Regions from separate parts of the Homo sapiens genome. Here region 1 is linked to region 2. Evidence: promoter capture Hi-C in 16 types of primary human blood cells and fetal thymus (Javierre and others, 2016). All regions are on one chromosome and are shown on one strand. The core of a region is centred on a gene start or on the middle of the fragment in contact, and the rest is flanking DNA. Distances in the headings are between cores, read along the strand shown.

Evidence for each region. Contacts are between HindIII fragments. The CHiCAGO score rates a contact against its expected background, and 5 or more counts as called.
Region 1: the fragment with the promoter of MOB1B here is called in contact with the fragment with the promoter of ENAM in region 2 in 13 of 17 cell types (fetal thymus, total B cells, non-activated CD4 T cells and 10 more); the score reaches 15.2 in fetal thymus.

Annotation. Positions count from the first base shown.
Region 1 is chr4:70,899,905-70,905,163 of GRCh38, reverse strand. MOB1B (MOB kinase activator 1B) reads right to left here and starts at 2,795. Exons shown (of 6, transcript NM_173468.4): 1 at 2,614-2,795. The coding sequence starts at 2,627. LOC124900711 (a long non-coding RNA gene) reads left to right here and starts at 2,933. Exons shown (of 2, transcript XR_007058132.1): 1 at 2,933-3,215. RefSeq lists silencers at 2,466-2,515, 2,826-2,975. The HindIII fragment of the contact is 2,463 bases long and covers 832-3,294 here.
Region 2 is chr4:70,626,361-70,631,200 of GRCh38, reverse strand. It overlaps ENAM (enamelin), which reads right to left and starts at 2,457. Exons shown (of 9, transcript NM_031889.3): 1 at 2,237-2,457; 2 at 1,647-1,760. The coding sequence starts at 1,700. The HindIII fragment of the contact is 672 bases long and covers 1,807-2,478 here.

The DNA.
Region 1 (5,259 bases), core at 1,546-4,045, 270 kb before region 2:
TCATTTCCATGTGGTGTTCACTTTGGATTTTTAATTGACGGTAGACAAAGACCAAAACTGAAAATGTTGAATTAACTTTTCTGATTGTCAAGCACATGGGCTAAATATGTTGAGAATATATCAACTGCTAGATAGATATAACCTAACTGAAAAATTGTGCCCCAAATAGTGCAAATGCTCTAAAGTTCTATATACATTAGTTACAGCAAGATTTCTTTTGTAGTTACTAACCTTCAGGAGAAACAAACTAATCCACCACAAATCTGAATCTATTAAATACTGAGCCATGTAAAAATAGGATTCTACTGTATTTGTATTCAAAAAATAGCATCAGAAACTTCTCCATCCCCTAGTTTCAGCCAAATATGGCTCTTCCCTGCTTTAACCTTTTTTTTTTTTTTTTTTGAGACAGAGTCTCACTCTGCCACCCAGGCTGGAGTGCAGTGGCGCGATCTCGTCTCACTTCAACCTCTACCTCCCGGGTTCAAGTGATACTCCCGTCTCAGCCTCCCAAGTAGCTGGGACTACAGGTGCGTGCCACCTTGCCCAGCTAATTTTTGTATTTTTAGTAGAGACGGGGTTTCACCATATTGGCCAGGCTGATCTCGAACTCCTGACCTGGTGATCTGCCTGTCTTGGCCTCCCAAAGTGCTGGGATTACAGGCATGAGCCACCGCGACTGGCCTTGCTTTAACCAATTTAGCTTACTAGACACAAGCCCATCAGCAGTAGTCATGGATATCATCTACAGTGCTATTTTGAATACAGCTTCTAAATTCTTGAAAACAATCAAACATTAGCAATGTAAAATTAAGCTCAAGATGAGAAGCTTCAAGTTGAGATACCTGAATATGGTGATTAGAACTAAAACAAGAAACTGCCCAGGCACGGTGGGCTCACGTCTGTAATCCCAGCACTTTGGGAGATCAAGGCAGGCAGATCACTTGAAATCAGGAGTTCGAGACCAGCCTGGCCAACATGGTGAAACCCCCATCTCTATTAAAAATACAAAAATTAGCCAGGCGTGGTGGCGCGGGCCTGTAGTCCCAGCTACTCAGGAGGCTGAGGCAGGAGAATCGCTTGAACCCGGGAGGCAGAGGTTGCAGTGAGCCGAGATCACGCCACTACACACTCCAGCCTGGTGACAGAGCGGAGACTCCGTCTCAAAAAAAAAAAAAAAAAAAAAAAAGAACTAAAATAAGAAACAAGGACTTTTTTATAAAATCACCCAGTCCTGTCATCTAGCCCTATGCCAATCCGACAAACTCAGAATCAACTTCTAGGAGGAGCCTAAGAAATCCCTTTCCGTTTAAAGGTTTTAGGCAAGTTGACACAAGCCAGGTCCCCTATGCATATTGGAAATATCAAGTCTGCCCCTAGGTCAGCCTTGTTCAGTTTTGCTTAAACACCCTAAAAAAAAAAATTCTAGATGTGAGCATGTGAAAATAAGAGTGAATTAAATTCTCAGTATTCAGACGTCAATGTAATGACTAAAAATTATTAGGCAAGGAAAGAAGAGAAATCTTAAGAAAATATCCTTTAAATGCTAATTTCTCCACAACAGTAAAACAGTATATGGGTGAGTTTCAACTTCTAAGTTTTTTATTAGTTTTCTAAACACAGACTAAACATGGAATGAGTGCATCACAACGAAGCCTTCAAAGGAGTTATTCCTCAGGCTGTAACCCCTGTTTTCAGAGGACCTGAGGCTTATCTACTGCCTCCATATCCACATCTGGCCATCCCATCCTTCTGCCCTTCCCCCTCCACGTTCCCCTCCACTCGTCTGGAACAAACGATAAGTAAGTGAAATAATGACCAGCACTAAACATGACGCCAAAGTTGGCATTTACAAATGATTTTCAAAACAACTCCCCAGTGGACCTAATCAACCTAGGCAGGGCACACTATCCAAAACCTATTTGCTGGTTGTCTAAAAAGATAAAACTCATCCTCTTCAGGGAAGTCCTCTGGGAGGAAGGGCGCCTCTAGGAAGCAAGGGGGCGGCTCCAGACCCCTTTCTCAGGGACCCCCGTCTGTGTCCAAGGGATCCCGACCCGCAAGTAGCCTTGTTTCAGTGTTACATCTACAGAACTTGTCATCCCAACTTCCCAGCCCTAAGACGAGAGAGGAAGTTAAAAGGGTCCTGGGATGACAGGGGAAAGTACGACAGTCTTATCTTCTGTGCTTGGGACCCAGAAAAGAGCAATGGGCAGCCGCGACGGAGCCATTCAACCGAGCACCGCTTGGATACGGATTGTGCAGGCGAGTGGGAGATACCCACGAGAAGCGCACAAACAAGCCCGGGAATGCGAGCGAAGGCAGAGACGGGGGTGATGAAGGAATCCAGGCGCTGGCCCCGGGGTGTGCCGGGGGGGAAGAACCTCCTCAGGGCTGCAGGAGCCCACGAGTACTCGAAGCCCTATGGGGAGGCGGCGGTTAGGTAGTCCGAGCGCTCCGCGCAGTCCCGGGGCCCCGCTTGGTGGTGACGCCGGGCCCCGGGAGCGCTGGGCCAGGAGGGTCGGGACGAGGGCGGGCGACGGGCGGCGGGCGGCGGGCGGGGGCCCAGGTCCACCCGAACAAAGCCGGCGCGTGCGGGGCCTGGCTACTCACAACAAGAAGCTCATGTTGGCCGCGGGGCAGGCTGCAGGCTCGGCGGTCGCGAGGCCTCGGAGCGGCGTGGGCCAGGAAAGAAGAGGAAAGGCGAATGGAACAGGAGACAGGGAGGCGGAGGAGGAGGTGCCGAGAGCCGGCTGCTCGGTGGCCGCAACTAGTTCGGCTCAGCTAGTTCCAATGGCAGGGGGAGGGGGCGGAAGTGGGTAGCGCTCGTCTTGAATCACTCCAGGGGAGGGGAAGGAAAGGGAGGCGGGGCAGGCTCTCCGCGAGCCCCTCCCCAGCTCCCCGCCGCCCCCACCTCACGAGCTCTCGCGATAGCGGTGCAAGCCCACCCCGGCCCTCCGGCTGCGGCATGGGGACTCTCACCTTCTGGTCTCCTCTGCTGCTAGGGACGACGCCCAGCGTGTGCGCCGCGGCTGCCCGGCCCCCCTGTCCACCCGGTTAGGAGTCATGGCAGAGCTCTCGGAGCCGCTCAGCTGGGCTCCAGAGGTCAGGGAGGAAGTGGGCTTCAGCTCGGGGATGTCAAGGTCCCGCAGTGAGGGATGGAATTACCACCGGAGTTAGGCCCACCGTGAGTGTCCGGCCAAGGGCGGTGAAAGGTAATGGCATCTCTCAGTTCACCACGGAACCCAGCATGATAGGGTGGTCATCGGTGTAACCACTTAGGGGGCCAAAGCTTGTAAGCATTCTAATGCACAGAACATCCTAGAAGCTAGAAGCTATTCAGACCCACTTACAAAGGGACTTTTATTCTCACAGGGTTATGGGGCCCAGGGCAAGCCTTTATATTCTGTTTAAGAATCCTTCACATACCTTGAATATGTCACCACAGCATTACCAATTTAGGAGGGAAATACGGGTATCGAAGAGATGTCCGTCTTCTTTACTCACAACACCCATCAAATCTACAAGTTTTCAAAGAGAATCTGAGCAAAACAAATCATGTGCAGATATTAGCTCACCTTTGGCTTATCCCAAAGGGCAGAATACACTTTGAAGTAGGTGCAGATATGAAATGTATTATACTGCATATATGCACTATTATTTGGCACGTTGGTAAAGTGGTAAAAAAAAAAAAAAAAAAAAAAAAAAAAAAAAAAAAAAACGTTTTAGGCCGGGCGCAGTGGCTCATGCCTGTAATCCCAGCACTCTGGGAGGCCGAGGTGGGTGGATCACCTGAGGTCAGGAGTTCAAGACCAGCCAAAGTTCAAGACCATGGCCAAACCCCGTCTCTACTAAAAATACAAAAATTAGCCGGGCATGGTGGCACACACTTGTAATCCCAGCTACTCGGGAGGCTGAGGCAGGAGAATTGCTCCAACCCAGGAAGCAGAGGTTGCAGTGAGCCAAGATCATGCCACTACACTCCAGCCTGGGTGACAGAGTTAGACTCCGTCTCAAAAAAAAAATTTTTTAATAGAAGAAAATACTAGAATCTTGCACTATCTCAGGAACAGCAGAGGTTACTGGAATGAGAAAACTTACAGACTCAAAAGATTACCAGATCAGGATAAATAGCTAATGCATGCAGAGCTTAATACCTAGGTGATAAGTTGATAGGTTCAGCACACCACCATGGCACACACGTTTACCTATGTAACAAACCTGCACGTCCTGCACATGTATCCTGGAACTTCAAATTAAATTAAAAATTTTTTAAAAGATTCCCCAAAAAGAAGAAAGAGGAGGATTTATCTGAATGAAAATAATAGATTTATGGTATAAAACCCTGTGCTCCAAATATTGATATGGTACTGACTTACTGTATAATTCTTTTTTTTTTTTTTTTTTTTGAGACGGAGTCTCACTCTGTCACCCAGGCTGGAGTCCAGTGGTGCAACTTCTGGACTAGGCTCACTGCAACTTCTGCCTCCTGGGTTCAAACAATTCTGCCTCAGCCTCCTAAGTAGCTGGGATTACAGGCCTGTGCCACCACACCTGGCTAATTTTTGAATTTTTAGTAGAGACGGGGTTTTACTATGTTGGCCAGGCTGGTCTCAAACTCCTGACCTCGTGATCTGCCTGCCTTGGCCTCCCAATATGCTGGAATTACAGGCGTGAGCCACCACGCCCAGCCCTGTATGATTCTTGTAAGGGTCTTCTGAAAGTAAGACTTGCATTACCAGATTACTGATTATCTTTGGAAAGAGTGAGTTGACCTGTCATAGCCTCAGTTTTAGCCCATTTAAAATGGGAGCCTTCTATCATTACATGATCTCTAAAATATCTTCCAGTTCTAAAGTTCTCTCCTGCCAGGGGCATCCTTCAAATGACTGGCACACATTTCCAAACTGCTCCCTGATTTGGCTTAGGTAGCCTTAGTTTTGGTCTGACATAATTTAGATGTATCCTGTGACACTGAATAAGGGAAAACTGGCAGAGGAAAGAATCTGCAAAAATACCTTCTGAGTATTTCTTTATCATACCACTAGGAGAGTTGCCTGGAATTAACATCCAATAAAACGTAAATATACTGGTCCTAAATGTGAGGGAGGTGTCAGGTTAATAATATACAATATGATTCCAGGTTAGACTTTAAATCAAATGATGTCTGTCATATAAAATTATTCAGCATATCAAAAACATTGGGAATTTCAGAATCAAAGAGAGTTTATATTCAAATAGATATTTATAATTATCATC
Region 2 (4,840 bases), core at 1,208-3,707:
AAAACTTTGTGCTACTTTCTAAGATGTTATAGATAATATTCTGTTATATAGAGACTAAGTAAACTGGAATATGCAGAATCTTATTTTTTTCCTGGTTTCCTCTATTGTTCCTGTTATTATTATTATCATCATCATCACTTCCTTTAAAAATCACTTATGTGGCCAGGCGCGGTGGCTCACGCCTTAATCCCATCACTTTGGGAGGCTGAGGTGGGTGGATCCCCTGAGGACAGGAGCTTGAGACCAGCTGAGCCAACATGGTGAAACCTTGTCTCTACTAAAAATACAAAAATTAGCCGGGTGTGGTGTCTCACACCTGTAATACCAGCCACTTGGGAGGCTGAGGCAGGAGAATCGCTTGAACCCAGGAGGAGGAGGTTGCAGTGAGCCAAGATCGTGCCATTGCACTCCAGCCTGGGCGACAGAGTGAGACTCTGTCTCAAAAAAAAAAAAAAATCACTTATGCTCTAAGATGGTCAGGAAAATAGGAAGAAATAGGAAATAGGCAGAATAGTAAATTTATCTCTTTATTAGATACCTTGATTAAACATATAGACTTATGTATGAAGTTTGGAGATTGTTTTTAACGGGGTTCATTCATTTATCCCACTCTAGTTAATTATGAAAGACTTGTAAAATTAAGTCTCGTATTTACATCTTGGAACAAGGTTTATTCTGAAACATTTACTTGAGTAATTTCTTAAGAAAACTTTCTATTTGCATATACAATAGAGGAAAATAAAAGGTTTTAATCAGAATGATTCATTTTCATCGTATATCAGATATAGTCCATTTCCTAGCAGAGTAACCAACATGTAGACACTCAGTTGTTTTCATTCCTTTCATTCTTTCTTCCTTTTCTGGACATAAAATCTATCTAGCATAATTGGAGCCAATGCTCACCCTTCTGTTTACTTCCTATAGGAGCAACATAAATGACGCTTTAGCATTTTTATAATGGACATTTTCCTAAATTGTGGGTGTAATCAGTTATCTTTCATACATTAGAAAAATTGGCAGAATGTAATTAAACAAAGGAAGCAGTAGTATGTAAATACCTTTCCTACTATTTAAAGATTTTCAGAGTTAGAACATCATAGAGAATGAAAATAACAGCTGAATGTTATTTTAGAGTGTTTAGTATAGGTTACAACAATATGTGGAAACTAATAAAGAGAATACTGGTGAAAGCTTTCTTTGCTAAATGTTTCTAAGATTATGGCCCAAGATTTAAGGGTGCTTTTGGATGGTTAATTTCTGCCTTGCTTAATCATTCATCTCATCTCTCTAGTAGCTGTCACAGTGATTCTTGATAATATATGTAGCCTTTATATTTGCAAATAGAAAACTCATTTTCTCTTTTGTAAAATTAATATATTATGTTGGATGACTGAGATCCCTTCCATCTCTAAAAGTTAGTGATTAAAGTCTATAATTAGTTATTTTTTGAGTTGAAAGTAACACTCATAATGATTGCCACAAAGTACAATGACTGTGTAAGTTCTTCTTCCATTCCATCTGTGAAAGCAGATGCTCTTTGAGTCTTCTGATACATTTCAGTAGTGTTTGGCCCTCTCAAGTGTATTTCTGACAGTATCTAGTTTGAGAACCTGTATGTATTGGCAAAAATAAATGAAAGTACTCACCAAGTTATCTAGTTTAGGAAAAGAGGTTCCAAGCCTGCACCGAAGCACCAACATTTTTTTCAGCAAAATTTTTATAAGCCTTTAAGAAAAATACAGCTTTAACCTGAGAAGAAACTAAAATATAGAAATGGAACAAATAAATGAAATGAATAGCAAAGCTTCAGTTCTAAGGCAGCACATGTCATGTTAATTATTTTATCCAGTCATACCTGTATTAGGGGGCCACAAAATCAAGTTTAATCTTCTGTTGCTTTAAAAGTAGGATGAAAGCTAAATCAGAGAGGAAATGACACAGGCACTGTATTTTGAGATACTTCTAGGGCGATGTTGACAAAACTAGACTTCACTATGGGGAAATGTACAAAGTCACAGTAGTAAAGGAGGTCTAAGAAGGCTGGAAAAAACTTACAAGAAAAACAAATACACCAAATAAACCAAGGAGTTTAAAGTTTTATCAGAAGATTAGTCTGCATACAATGATTATACAACCAACAAGAAGGAATGCAATAAGGAGAATTAACCAACATCTATGAATTAAATTCATTATTTGACACTATATGTAATTTATGTTGATAATCTCTAATACTCACCCAATGCCAATTAGAAGCTGTAATATATAAAAAATAATTTTTACTTGAACTTTGTTAGCTTGCCTTTGAAATATATTCTTAATGGTCTATAGTGGAAATAACTACAAATTGCTGAAGCCAGGGAGATCTCAAGAAGCAAGATACATTTATTTCTTAATAATAAAACAAAAATTCTTCACTCAGATATCATGTTCAGTATCAAAAAGGCTCAAAATAAAAAGATTCCTCCTTGTCAGAAAGCTTGGCACAGCAAGGTTCCATTTAAGCACTGTTGTAGACCTGCATAACCAATCAGCTTTGAGGAAAATGGTTTTGTCATCACAAGAGTTTAAGGTAAAAAACACACATCGAATTTAAAATTTAGAATGTGTTATTATAGGAGCTGTCAAGTCAAGTCTCTTATTACGTATAATAACAGTCCAGGAAAATGAGCTTACAGCAGTAAGATTTAGAAGATGCTTCCCTTGGTGAATTTGGCTTTCAAAGTATAGAAACTATGTTTATAACAAAGATATTTCAGGAACAAAGGCGAATATTAACTGTATGCTATTGTCATAAGTCAGTTGCCTTCATCAAAAGGCAGGCTAATATATATATTTACTTAATATACATTTTATATGTAATTAAAATGAACTGGAATGTTATATCCATGGGTGAAAACTCAGTGACTTGATTTACTTTGTATTACATAAGGCTAGCAGGACATAGTGTTCTTTTTGAAGTCAAATATAATCCAGTCACTGGGGATTCAGAATTTTAGATGAGTTGGGTACAATGGCAAATGAACTCTCAGCTATTATGATAATACAACTTAATGAAAATAGGACCTGAGTAATTTAATGAAACAGTTATGTTATGGATTTTTTTCCTGAAATCTGACTTTCCATAATAAAGATTTCACTTTCAAATAGATAGGCCAATTGCACTTTTAATTGACAAGAGCAAGCTTTGCTATCTTTGCTTAACTTGGATTCTCCTGTTCTCTTATGGCTTCACAAGAGAAAACATTTGTTGTGGCAATGTTTGCTTATTTTAATGTTGGGATTTAAAAACCAAGAATGAATGAACTTGATGGCAAAACCTGTTCCTACTTGGTATGATTGTGTATATAAGTTAATCCAGTGGTTGCCCATGGTGCTGTTCTTCCAAGGACAGAGAAGTGCTGTGTCATTCCTTTTGGGCCAAATAGCATTGTATTTCTCAGTGCCTCTCTGCTCCACATATTTCGTGCCACAAATAATAAAAATGTGCTAGAATATTTGACTTTAAATGAAGCTAGGACTATCTTTTAACTCTATGTGTATCCAAGATGTGCAAAGTTAAATCTGCTTCAAGTACCTGCTTGCCTTTGTCTGATTTTGTAGAAACTGAGTAGTATTTATCATATTGTGTGCACATTGAGATGAATTTGCAAATGGTAGGACACTTACGGGACAGTGACCTACAGTGTGTTCTTGGAAGTGAAATGGGAGTTCTGATGCTGGATGACCTGGCCTATCCTGTGCCCATTCATGTAGAGGGTAATTTTTGATTTTGGCCTTACCCATATAGGTTGTTGGGAGTTGCCACTAAACCTCACTTTTGATCACTTTCCTCTATTTACCCTTGTTCTCTTGGCCACAAGGGTGGTTAGTTGTCATGAAATAATTCATGTTTCTAAAATCCAGCCAAGCTATTGAATGAGTGAATTCTTAGTACTGTTGGATTGGATTGGGAGAATTACCAAATTTCCTTTCATTTAAAGGAAAAAAAAAAGCTCAAACTTTATAATTTTTTTTTTTTTTTGAGACAGAGTCTGGCTCTGTCACCCAGGCTGGGGTGCAGTGGCGCGATCTTGGCTCACTGAAACCTCTGTCTCCTGGGTTCAAGTGATTCTCCTGCCTCAGCCTCTAATGTAGCTGGGATTACAGGCATGAGCCACTGTGTCCAGCCTATAAAATGTTTTGAAATCAGTCCTTTATGAGTTTTTCCCCCTTTACTTTATCTCTATTTATTTTGTAAATTATTTTTCCCTTCAGGCAATTACAACTGTTTGTGAAACATGTTTATGATTTGGCTTAAATTTTTTTTTTTAATGTATCTCTTTGATTTTTTTCTCTACATTACCCTTCTCAGTCTTAAAATAAGATGTGTTAACCTGGGAGCTGAAACCTAAGAAATTGCATATAAGAATTTGTGCATTTGTGTGTAAATGTACCATTTTTTTCTCCCCCTGAAAAAGAACCCATATTCTCCAGGGGGCCTGTGAACTTCTTCCTTTGCCTCCACTCTTTAAGGTCCCCTCATTGCTCTAGATTTTAAGCCAGCAGGAGCAGAAAAGTCTTTTGATTTCATACTCTAGATGTAAGGGAAAGAGGCTGGGTTTTGAAATTGCCAGATCTAAGTTTAAACCTTCCACAAATTATCCAGCTGTTCAATTTCCTGTTCAGTAAAATGAGGGCAATATTACCTTCCTCATAAGTTTCCTCTAAGAAATGAATGAAGTAATAAATATAGCTTGGGCCACAAAGTGGGACTCCATCTCTACAAAAAAATATATTAACCAGCCACAGTGGTGTGTGCCTGTAGTCCCAGCTACTCGGGAGGCTGAGATGGGAGGACAAG